Linked DNA regions of Homo sapiens: region 1 is linked to region 2. Evidence: promoter capture Hi-C in 16 types of primary human blood cells and fetal thymus (Javierre and others, 2016). All regions are on one chromosome and are shown on one strand. The core of a region is centred on a gene start or on the middle of the fragment in contact, and the rest is flanking DNA. Distances in the headings are between cores, read along the strand shown.

What was found. The method cuts DNA at HindIII sites, captures the fragments that hold promoters and counts their contacts. A CHiCAGO score of 5 or more calls a contact.
Region 1: a fragment that was not itself captured here is called in contact with the fragment with the promoter of GFPT2 in region 2 in 1 of 17 cell types (erythroblasts); the score reaches 5.2 in erythroblasts.

What each region holds. Positions count from the first base shown.
Region 1 is chr5:180,662,125-180,668,385 of GRCh38, reverse strand. No RefSeq gene overlaps it. Among named protein-coding and RNA genes, the nearest start is that of FLT4, 16 kb to the right of the region's middle. The HindIII fragment of the contact is 3,284 bases long and covers 1-2,974 here.
Region 2 is chr5:180,350,619-180,356,689 of GRCh38, reverse strand. It overlaps GFPT2 (glutamine-fructose-6-phosphate transaminase 2), which reads left to right and starts at 3,354. Exons shown (of 19, transcript NM_005110.4): 1 at 3,354-3,479. The coding sequence starts at 3,473. RefSeq lists a silencer at 3,098-3,327 and an enhancer at 4,700-5,200. The HindIII fragment of the contact is 14,264 bases long and covers 1-6,071 here.

The DNA of each region.
Region 1 (6,261 bases), core at 83-2,582, 310 kb before region 2:
AGAAATTGACTTCAATTCCTTTTTTTTTCTTTTTTTTTTTTTGAGATAGAGTCTCTCTCTCACCCAGGCTGGAGTGTAGTGGTGCGATCTCAGCTCACTGCAGCCTCCACCTACTGGGTTCACACAATTCTTCTGCCTCAGCCTCCCGTGTAGCTGGGATTACAGGCACCCGCCACCACGCCCAGCTAATTTTTTTGTATTTTTAGTAGAGATGGGGTTTCACCATGTTAGGCAGGATGGTCTCGAACTCCTGACCTTGTGATCCACCCACCTCGGCCTCCCAAAGTGCTGGGATTACAGGCGTGAGCCACCGCGCCCGGCCCCTGACTTCCATCCTTAACAGGAGAAGCTACAAACACACATTGTAAAAGTGCATGAATATAAGGAGAAGTGAGGCATGGTGGCCATCTTTGCCATCTACCACATTAATAGAAGAGAAAAAATAAAATAAAATAAAATAATAAAAAACTTGATGGATCCTTAAACTGTAAGAAAGAAGGAATAAATGAACCACAGAATGATGAAACAAATAGAAAACAAATAGTAATATGGTAGATGTCAACCCAAATATATCAGTAATTACATTAAATGTAAATGGACTAAAGTCAAAGATTGTCAGTCTGTTTTTCTTAAGCCAAGAGACATTTTAAATATAAGCATACAGCTACAGCCAGTTATGCTATAATACTTGTTTTAAATATTAGGGCCAGGCATGGTGGCTCATGCCTATAATCCCAGCACTTAGGGAGGCCAGGGCAGGTGGATCACCTAAGGTCAGGAGTTCAAGACCAGCCTGGCCAACATGGCGAAACCCTGTCTCTACCAAAAATAGAAAAATTAGCTGGGCGTGGTGGTGGGCACCTGCAATTCCAGCTACTTCGGAGGCTGAGGTAGGAGAATCACTTGAACCTGGAAGGCAGAGGTTGCAGTGAGCCAAGATTGCACCATTGCACTCCAGCCTGGGTGACAGAGCAAGACTCCGTCTCAAAAAAAAAAAAAACAAAACAAAACAAACCGTAAAACAAAAATTAGCTGGGCATGATGGCAGGAGCCTGTAATCCCAGCTACTCAGGAGCCTGAGGCAGGGGAATCACTTGAACTTGGGAGGCCGAGGTTGCAGTGAGCCGAGATCGTGCCACTGCACTCCAGCCTGGGTGAAAAGAGCAAAACTCCGTCTCTAAATAAATAAATATTGCCATTTTATTCAATGCACTGACATATTGGAGGGAATTTGAGCATAATGTGACTTTTGCATTTGTTCATACACGATTTCATTTGCAAAACACACCAAGTGCATGCAGAACATTATGCCCAGTCCAGCTGCTCAAGCAACGTAGAAGTGCGCAGAAAGCACACGCGCACACTTCCAGCTGGGTGTGTGACGAGCCACAGCCGTGCACATTTGGCCGGACAAACTTCCACCCCACCCAGTTTCAGACAACCTCCCTTCCACCACCTCACGGTAAACCATAAGCTACAGCCCTTCCAAAACCACTTTAACAAGCAGCCTTGAGGTCTTGTACAGGGTAAAATGCCGCATTGATTGTAGTGTTTATGTAGTTCTTAACTATTTAACCTGCGTAAACTGTGCTGTCAATTTCTTGGCAACAACTTTATTGAGATATAATTCACATACCGTATACTTAATGTGCCTTTCAGTATATTCACAGAGTGCTGCAGCCATCAGCACAACTGAACTCCTGACCCTGTGATCAGGAGAATGTTTCTGCCACTAGAAAGAAACCCCACACTCTTTAGGTAACACTCCCTCATGCTTCCATCCCTCCCCCACCCAAACCAATAAACAACCAGTAATCTACTTTCTACGTCTTTTCCCACTCTGGACATTTCATACAAATGAACTAGTATAATACGTGAGTTTTTTTGAGACTGGCTTTTTTTTTTTTTTTTTTTTTTTGAGACGGAGTCTTGCTGTGTCGCCCAGGCTGGAGTGCAGTGGCGCCATCTCAGCTCACTGCAAGGTCCGCCTCCTGGGTTCAAGCGATTCTCCTGCCTCAACCTCCTGAGTCGCTGGAACTACAGGCGCCCGCCACCACGCCTGGCTACTTTTTTTTTGTATTTTCGTAGAGACAGAGTTTCATCACGTCGCCCAGGTTGGTCTGGAACTTCTGAGCTCAGGTGATTCGCCCACCTCGGCCTCCCAAAGTGCTGGGATCACAGGTGAGAGCCGCCGCGCCCGGCCCTGACTGGCTTCTTTCAATTAGCATGATGTTTTCAAGATTCCTCTGTTATACCTCATTTCTTATCATGTGAGAATATTCCACCGTGTGAATACGCCACGTGGTATTTATCATTCACTAGTTGACGGACATGTGAATTGTTTCCATCTTTGGGTTATTCTCAATAATGCTGCTATAAGCATTTGTGCACACATTTCTGTGTGGACCTACATTTTCATTTCACTTCTCCTGGATCTACGTATGCCTGTGAGGGAAATTGCTGGGTCATATGGTAACTTGATGTTTAACATTTTGAGGAAGTGCCATAATGTTTCTAAAGTGACCATACCACTTACCACTCCCACCAGCAGTAGATGAGAACTCTTTGATTTCTCCACATCTTTGCCAACAACGTTTATTTTCCATTGTTTTGCTTATGCTCATCCTAGTTGGAATAAAGTGGTATCTCGTGGCTTACATTTGCATTTCCTTGGTGGATAATGATGCTGGGCATCTTTTCATGTGCTGATTTGGCCATTTGCACATCTTCTTTGGAGAAATTATTAAGATCCTTTGCCCATGTTTAATTGGGTTATTTGTGGTCTTTTTATTATTGACTTGTAACTGTTCTGTATAGATTCTAGATAAAGTTCCTTATCAAACATTTGATTTGCAAATATTTTCTCTCATTCCATGGTTTTTTAAATGTATAATGTCCTTTGATGCACAAAAATGTCTTAATTTTGATGTCTAACTTATCCGTTTTTTCTTTTCTTGAATATCCTAGCTAAGCTTCCATTGCCAAATGAAGATTTACTACTTGGCTTTCCTCAGAAGTTTATATTTTCATTTTTACATTTAGGCCTTGAGTTAATTTTTGATCCATTTTGAGTTAATTTTTGTCTATAGTGTGAGGTAAAGTTTCAACTTCATTGCTTATGGCTATCCAGCGGTACCAGCACCAGTTGTTGGAGAGGCCATTTCTTCTCGTGGTGAATGGTCTTAGAAGCCTTGTTAAAAATAAAATGACCAAGTAGAGAATTCTGGGAAGATGGAGGAGCAGGAAGCCTGAGAAATCTCTCTCCTCACCTAGACAATAATACTCACAGAATCTGTCTGTTGTAGCTATTTTGGAACTCTGAAGTCCATTGAAGGCCTGCAACTTCCAGGAAGACTCGGATGGTACATTGTGGTTAATTTTGGTCAGTGAGCTCTTAGCATAGTTGCAGCTGCCTGTTCCCCACCTCTCATCCCCACAGCAGGCAACTGTGCACGTTCCTGGAGCAGCTTACAGATCGATGACAGGAGCCAGGGTAGGTATGAGAGACCCTGTCCTCCAGATATTGAGTCTCTGTTCTGATCACTGATTGCTTCATCTGATCACAGAAGTGCAGACAAAGAGGCAGCAACCCTTGTTATTGCACTTTGCACTTTCTCCTTTTTTCTTTTTCTTTTGAGACGGAGGCTCGCTCTGTCGCCCAGGCTGGAGTGCGGTGGCGCGATCTCGGCTCACTGCAACCTCCGCCTCCCGGGTTCACGCCATTCTCCTGCCTCAGCCTCCTGAGTCGCCGGGACTACAGGCGCCCGCCACCACGCCCGGCTACTTTTTTGTATTTTTAGTAGAGACGGGGTTTCACTGTGTTGGCCAGGATGGTCTCGATCTCCTGACCTCGTGATCCGCTGGCCTCGGCCTCCCAAAGTGCTGGGATTACAGGCCTGAGCCACCGCGCCCGGCCACCTTCTCCCATTGTTACAAGCCCCTCCCTTGCTGGTAAAGTGACTTCCAGGGGACTTAAAGGACTGGTGACTTTTTCCCCCTTAATTTCTCTCTATTTCCCCTTCTTGGAGCCAGACAATAAAAAGTAGGACATTCAAAAGCAACTGCATATACAGGGGAAATTAGAAAGCTACCAAGCATGCCCAGGGGAAGGCGTAGTTTCAGAAAAGGCCTGAGAAGACCTTAAGGTTACACCTCAAGCTGGTCCTTAGCTCCAAGACAGTCTACAACAATTCCAAAAAAACAAAAAAGCAAAACACAAACAAATACAAAAGCAAAAAACAGCAAACCCTGGAGAAAGGGGAAATTCTGATTTTCAGAGTCACTAAAGTGTTAGATTCAAATGTCCAGTTTTTGACCAAAAAAAAAAAAACAAAACCAACAAGAGTATACAAAGAAACAGTAAAGTATGGCCCATTCAAAATAAAAAATAGACCAACAGGAACCATCCCTGCAAAAGAGCTGGGAGAGGATCCACTACACAAAGACTTCATACCAACTGTCTAAAATATGTTCAAAGAGGCCAGGCATGGTGGCTCATGCCTGTAATCCCAGCACTTTGGGAGGCCAAGGCAGGTGGATCATGAGGTCATGAGTTCAAGATCAGCCTGGCCAAGATGGTGAAACCCCGTCTCTACTAAAAATACAAAAAATTAGCCGGGCACGGTGGCAGGCACCTGTAATCCCAGCTACTCAGGAGGCTGAGGCAGGAGAATTGCTTGAACTCAGAGGGCAGAGGTTGCAGTGAGCCAAGACCGGGCCACTGCACTCCAGCCTGGGTGACAGAGTGAGACTCTGTCTCAAAAAAATATATATGTGTATGTGTGTGTGTGTGTGTGTGTGTGTGTGTTTTCAAAGAACAAAAAGAATCTGTGGAGAGGCCGGGTGCAGTGGCTCACGCCTGTAATCCCAGCACTTTGGGAGGCTGAGGCGGGTGGATCACCTGAGGTCAGGAGTTCGAGACCAGCCTGACCAACATGGTGAAACCCCATCTCTACTAAAAATACAAAAATTAGCTGGGCGTGGTGGCACACTCGCCTGTAGTCCCAGCTACTCAGGAGGCTGAGGCAGGAGAATCGCTTGAACCTAGGAGGCAGAGGTTGCAGTGAGCCAAGATCGTGCCATTGCACTCCAGCCTGGGGAACAGGGTGAGATTCTGCCTCAAAAAAAAAAAAAATCTGTGGAGAAAGTCAAGAAGATGTAAGAACTAAATGGAGGCCCAGGCGCGGTGGCTCACACTTGTAATCCTAGCACCTTGGGAGGCCAACGCGGGTGGATCACGAGGTCAGAAGATCCCGTCTCTACCAAAAAAATACAAAAAATTAGCTGGCCGTGGTGGCGGGCACCTGTAGTCCCAGCTACTCAGGAGGCTGAGGCAGGAGAATGGCGTGAACCTGGTAGGCGGAGCTTTCAGTGAGTCGAGATTGCGCCACTGCACTCCAGCCTGGGTGACAGAGCGAGACTCTGTCTCAAAAAAAGAAAAAGAACAAAATGGAAATGTCAATAAGGAAATAGAAAACCTAAAAAGAGCCCCCCAGAATTCTGGAACTGAAATGCACAATGACTGAGAAGAAAAATTTACTAGAGACGGTTTTCACTATGTTGACCAGGCTGGTCTTGAACTTCTGACCTCAGGTGATCCACTTGCTTCGGCCTCCCAAAGTGCTGGGATTACAGGCATGAGCTACCGTGCCCGGCCTACATTTTTTTTTTTTTTTTTTTTTGAGACAGAGTCTCTCTGTCACCCAGGCTGGAGTGCAGTGGCACAAACTTGGCTCACTGCAACCTCCACCTCCCAGGTTCAAGAGATTCTCTTGCCTCAGCCTCCCAGGTAGCTGGGACTACAAGCGCCCAACACCATGCCCAGCTAATTTTTTTTGTATTTTTAGTAGAGACGGAGTTTCACTATGTTGGTCAGGCTGGTCTTGAACTCCTGACCATGTGATCCACTTGCCTCAGCCTCCCAAAGTGCTGGGATTACAGGTGTGAGCCACTGCTCCTGGTAAACAAAATTTTTAAATGACAGAAGTAAGTCCCTCTTTATCAGTAATTAAGTGTAAATAGATTAAATGCTACAATCAAGAGATTGAAAGGGTAAAAACATGATCCAATTATATGCTGTCTACAAGACACTCATTTTAGATCCAAAGATACAAATTTGAAAGTGAAAAGATGGAACAGGATATTCCACAGAAACAGTAACCAAAAGATTGCCCGTGTGGCTATAGTGATATCAAACAAAATAAACTTTGAGCCAAAAATTGTTAGAAGAGACAACAAAGGACATTAGATGTTGATTAGAAT
Region 2 (6,071 bases), core at 2,105-4,604:
CAGCCATGGGACCCAGCTGGGCAGTTTGTGTTGGGGGTAGAGCCTGGGGGAGGGGAAAAGATCTCTGGGTTGTTCGGGAGAAGCCAGATCAATGAGCAAATCTCCCAACTATCAAGTGCTTGCAAAAGCTGTGTAGGTGAAGCAGCCAGGTCTTTGGCTCACTTGCTGGCCAGAAGGGTGGAGGCACTCCGGGAAAGTGTGGCTGGGGCCAGCGGTGGAGAGCAGGATGGGCAGTGGACACTGGGACCATTAGGAGCAGACTCAGCACCCTGCTCCCCTGTAAGCACAGGTATGGGGTCCAGCTGAGAGAGGCACCTGGGCATGGCTCCCCGTGTAAGCACATGTATGGGGTCCAGCTGAGAGACGCTCCTGGGCACGGCCCTGCATCTTCCCTCCTCCTGGGCCCCCTGATCCAGACCAGGTCTCCTTTCTGGGCTGCCACCGGCTTCCTGCCTACCCACTCCCCTGGGCCTCAGACTTTAGTTCCAGCACGATCCAAGAGTCAGGACTCTACTTGGTTGCAAATGACAGAAGTCACTTCAGAGTACCTCAAGCAAAGATGAGAATTTATTGAGCCCTGATACTGAGAAGTCCAGGGATAAATCCTGGCTTCAGACCTGGCCGAATCCAGGGGCTCTGATGTGTATCGTCTCCATCCTAGATCCATCTGCCTTGCTCCGATTGCCCCGCTCTTCAGTGGCCTCTCTCCACCCCACTGCAAAAGTGATGAGAAGGTCCCAGCATCATCAGGACATTCTCCTACCAGCCACACCACTCAGGAGAGAATAAGCCATCTTTTTTACTTAAAAAAATTATTTTGTAGAGACAAGGTTTTAATATGTTGTCCAGGCTGATCAAGCAGTCCTCCCGCCTCCTGAGTAGCTGAGACTACAGGCACGTGCCATCACACCTGGATTTTTGTTTTGTTTTGAGACAGTCTTGCTCTGTCGCCCAGGCTGGAGTGTAGTGGTGCAATTTTGGCTCACTTCAGCCTCCACCTCCCAGTTTCAAGCCATTCTCGTGCCTCGGCCTCTCGAGTAGCTGGAACTACAGGTGCACATTACCACACCTGGCTAATTTTTGTGTTTTTAGTAGAGACGGGTTTTGCTGTGTTGCCCAGGCTGGTCTCGAACTCCTGGGCTCAAGCAATCCCAAAGATCTCAAACTTTTGCCCCCCAAAGTGGTGGGATTACAGGCATGAGCCATTGCACCCAGCGTGCCTGGCTTTTTTTTTTTTTTTTTTTTTTTTTTTTTACTTTTTGTAAAGATGGGTCTCCCTGTTGCCCAGGCTGGTCTCCAACTTCTGGCCTCAAGCAGTTCTCCCACCTCAGCCTCCCAAAGTGCTGGGATGACAGACCCAAGCCACTGTACCAGGCCAAGTTCATCTTTTCTGCTGGTTTCCCTCATGTGCTGGAGCAGGTCATCAACGTCCCAGCCTGGGCCATATGCTGACCTCTGAACCACTGCCCAGGCTGTGTGGCCAGGCCCAGGCCATCAACCTCCCAGATGACTCTCAGAGGGTTCTCAAAGCAGGAGTGATGCTAGGCCGGCAGCTGCTACAGACACATCCCCATGGGTGGTAGTGTGCACTCATGCCGTTCCTCACCGTGGACCTGTGACTCCTCCAGGAGGATAAAGGACAGATTTGGACCCTGCTAAGACCCCAGGGCTCCTGGGGTCTTGGTGCTATCAGAGGGCCTGTTGACATCACCCTGTCCCCGCCTCAGTTACAACAGTGGAGGCCAGTCTGGGCCAAACAACCTGATCTCCACATTCAAGTTCTAGCCCTCATCCAGGGGACCTTTGCACTGCCTGCTGCTCCCTCCTTCCTGGCTTCGCTAGGCTCTGGACCACCTGCACCAGCGCAGCCCTGCCCAGTCCCAGGCAGAGCCTGGCACCCTCTCCACCGCTGGCCCAGCCCCCTCCTTGTATCCTACCTGGAATTTTTAGCTCTCTGTGTAACCACGAGCTTAGTGTCTGCTTCCCCTTCACTTGTAAGTGCCAGGAGGGCAGGGCCAGATCTGTTCTCATTCATCAATAAGTCTCTTGCACCTGCACCCTGACAGGTGTGAAGTGGGTTCTTAGGAATGAGAGAAGGAAGGAAGGAAAGCGACCCTGCATAGTGGAGGGTTGGGGGCAAACGCTGCGGCTCCTGAATCGCTCTGAGATTTCCCAACAACAGGACTCACCCAAGCCCCCTCCTTCGCTGTCGTGGAGCCTCAGTTTTCCCAACCCTCCAATGGCACAACCTCCTTCCCCCAGGGCTTGCAGAGTCGCGGTGAAACTAGGGAGGGATTATGTTAGAAAAATGCTCTAGACGAGATGTAAAAATCTTTTTTTTTTTACACGACTGAGGAGGATCCGTTTAGAATTTCAGGATTTTTTTAAGAAAAAAAAAAACTTCAAAGTGCGCAAACGTTGGGCCGGTTCTCGTGACCTTCCTCGGGAGACGAGGGGCCCAGAGTGCAGGGGGAACGGGAGGGACGGCCGGGAACCAGGGCGGAGAAACGCGGGCCTTGGTGCCTCACTGGGGGGTCGGATTCCGACCCCAGGCGTAGGAACCCCCGGGTCCCTCGCGGGCCTGCAGCGCGAGGCAGATCTGGGGAGGGGGCAGCTCGGCGCGGGTGGGGTCGGGGCTTCCTGGGGCGCCTCCAGCTTCGTTCACAACCTGCGGAACCCTCGCCTTCAAGCTCGGGCTCCGCGGCAAATCCCAGGGTCGAATTCTGCCACCGCCGCGGCGTCCGGTTTTGGCAGAGTCCTTGTCTGCCTCCGGGAGCCTCGGTTTTCTCGTCTCTCCGCCAAGCCCGGGCGTTCTCTCCACGCAGGGTGAGGGCCAGGCTTAGAGGTCTGCGGAGCTCTGAAACAAGCCTGTCACTCAGATGGGAGCGCGGCAGGAACAGCGGCTCACGCGGGTTTCCGGAGCGCGCGAGTGATGCCGGACCCCTCGCTCTGCCCCTTACGCGGCCCGTCTGACTTCTCAGCACCCCGTGGGAGGGAGCTTCCCTGGGTAGCCCCGTTTCACAGACGGGAAAGCGGAGGCACAGCGCGATCGGGCCCTGCCCGGCTTCCACGCCTACTCTGGTTGAGTCGGGGTCTGAACTCGGGCCGTTGGTTGCCCTAAGCCCCGCTCCGGGATCTGGCGCCCGGCGCCCCAGCCTTACACGCCCGACCCGCGCCTGGGAGCCGCCCCTCGGCCCCCCTCCCTGGCTCCTGGGGGCCGGGTCCCGTCGTTGTCACGACAACCGGGGGCCAATGGGAGCAGGCGGGCGGGGGAAGCCCCGCCCCTTCCCCGCCCCCTTCCCCGCCCTCTCGGAGGGCTCCGGGTTATAAGGGCTGGAGGCCGAGCGGACGGGAGCTGGAGCCCGCGGAGCCCACGGAGCCCACGGAGCCCACGGAGGAGCCCACGGAGGAGCCCCAGCGTCCGAACGGGCAGACCCCCTCGAGCCGCGAAGGAGCCCGAGAAGCAGCCACGATGTGCGGTGAGTGCCGCGCCCGCCCGAGCCGCCTCCTCCACGCCGTCCGCGGGTCCCGGCGCCGCAGCCTCTCCGCGCCTCCGCCCGCAAGCAGGCGCCGAGGACCTGGCTGGGGGCGCCGATCTGCCCCGGGCCCCTACCGAGGGGCTGTCGTCGGCCGGGCCTGGCTGCCCCTCACCCGCGTTCCCCGAGTGGCCGTCTCGGAGGTGTGGGTGGGGGATGCCCAACCCGACTCCTGGTCTCGGACACAGTGAGGGGGACCGAGGCCCGGTCCCCACGGAGGGGAGGGACCTGGTCCGGTCCGGCCTGGACCCCGTAACAGAGGGGTCCCCACCCCATGCCGACCGAGGTCGCTCTCCTCCACGTCTCCCAGTCGCCCACAAAGGCGGCCACGCGCAGGCCGGCGCATCCCGAGTGCGGGGCGCCCATCCCGACTCAGCCCGCCGCGCCCACCGAGGAGAGGAGAGGCGACCCCGCCCCGCCGTCCCCGCAGCCCGCCCGGTCGCCCCCGCTGCGTCAGTGCCTCAGGCAGGGCCTGCGCGTCCTCCTCGCGACCCCAAAGGAACGTCTGGTCCCTAGAAGGGTCGCTGCCGCGTTACCGCCTCTTTGCGCGGGGAAGAGGCAGTCACTGCCCGAACCTCGGCCCGAAGCCACGAGAGGGAGTCCGGGGCGGGGAGCGGGGCCGGGCGTCCGATTCCCGCGGCGCTCCCGCGCTGTCCCGCGTGGCTGCGGGACCGTGGGGAGGGCGGCCGCGGCCCGGAGCGCACATCTGCAATTCTTTACTCTCCTGGCTGGGCCGCCTCCGCTGGCCGGGAGAGAGCCGGGAACTTCTGCTGGGACAAAAGGTCACTGTGCTCTTTTTTTTTTTTTTTTTTTTCCTTGAGTAGGATTCGGTTACCCATTCCAGCCTCCTGTGGCTGGAGGACCTGGAGGAACTTTCGAAGCCATGAAAGGCCTCTCTCTGACTTTGCTGAGGGCCGGGGTGGGGTGCGCCCGCGGTGAGCCCTGGCCGAGGTCTGTGCAGGCCTCTTGTCTCGGAGGCCAGCTGCTCGGCAGAAGGGAACGACCTACGGCGGAGCGGGCAGCGTGCTTCGGGATGCCGCCTCACCCAGGCTGAACAGGCATCCGTGGAAATTCCTGAACCCTCAGCTAAAATCTCGTGCTCCCAGACGCCATTCTCCATGTGTAGAGCCACCTTTGGGTGTTTCTGGGGGCAGAGATGAGGCAAAGGTGGTAGTTTTGCCAGATGTCCAAGCCCTGATGTTCCACACCTCTCAGTGTAGCATTCAAGACCCTTGGCCAAAACTGGTGGCCTTGGGGCCAGACTTGTGCAGGAGACCCTTGAACCAGGAGGGTCTGCCCACAGCACCAGAGGCTCCCCTTCCCCTTCCTTTCAGATGCTCCTCTGCCCCCACTGCCACCCCTGCCTGTCATCCTCCTTCCTACTGGCATCTTGCTTTTTCCCAAGTCTCTCTGAGCTTTGGGGGGGCTCTACCTCCTCCAGCTCACAAAATCACAAGTGTTTTTGTTCTGCTTCTTAAAGGGACACACACGCGTTGTCTCCTAGGGAAAGGTTGAGCTTTGGGGTGTGACCACCTGTATCTTCAGATTTTCTGGTACTGACTTGTGGTTGTATGTGAGAAGGAGCTTGAGGTCCCCAAAGGACACCCAGGGCTCAGGAGTGGCTGCGGTCCATGGGGGTGCCCACTCGGAGCCAGAATCAAAGAGTGCGTGCTGGCTTAGGTGCCTTCTCAGAATTCCCAGATTTGCTGATTTGGGGCTGGGGGCAGGGTGGGGGAAGTGGGGAGGGCACAGCTCAGCAGGAAGTCGTGGAATCCCTGCATGGGAAAGTTATTTCCTTTTCAAGAACATCAGGAGAAAGTTTCAACTTGGTGCTAACGTGTCCTTAACATCTCTCTGACACTTGCTTAAGTATCCTGTGCAGAGGGGAAGCCATTCCTGGCTCAGAGCAGGCAGCAGCAGCTGGCTAGAATTGAATACATTGGTCTGTTTGGGGGGGATGATGGTCTGAGTATGTATGACAAGTGATACTGATTTTCCTTTTATGGTTGTTTTCTTTTGGCATGAATTCATTTAAATTTTTGAAAATTTAATCAAATTCTGCAGAAGAAAAAGTAGTGATTATGCTATTAGTACAAGGATACTGCAAGAATCGTGAAGATGCTCCTAGAAAGAACCAGATAAGCTCTTCACTTTACGCTGGGGAAGCTGAGGCCCTGCGAAGTCTGTGCGCACCTGGCGTCTGAGCAGGCCTCGGGTCTCAGATCTCCTGGGCCGTTCCCTCAGGGGCGGAGACCTAAGGCCCTTCCTTATCACTTGGCTGATGACACTGCTGAGATTATGTCTTGCTGTCCTTTATCCTGCTGCTTCTCTCATGGGAAGCCAGGACTCGGCAGTAGTTGATCCTCTACAAACAGCAGATGATTCTCAAAAACTTTCAGTGCACTGAGAATTTAGCTGAAATGACACTTTGGTTTTATTGACATCTGAAAGTTGCTGGCATTTTGCTGACTTTCTGCGACAGAAAATTTACAATATTTCCTCCCTGTCTCTCTCCTTTCCTTCTCTGCTTCCTTT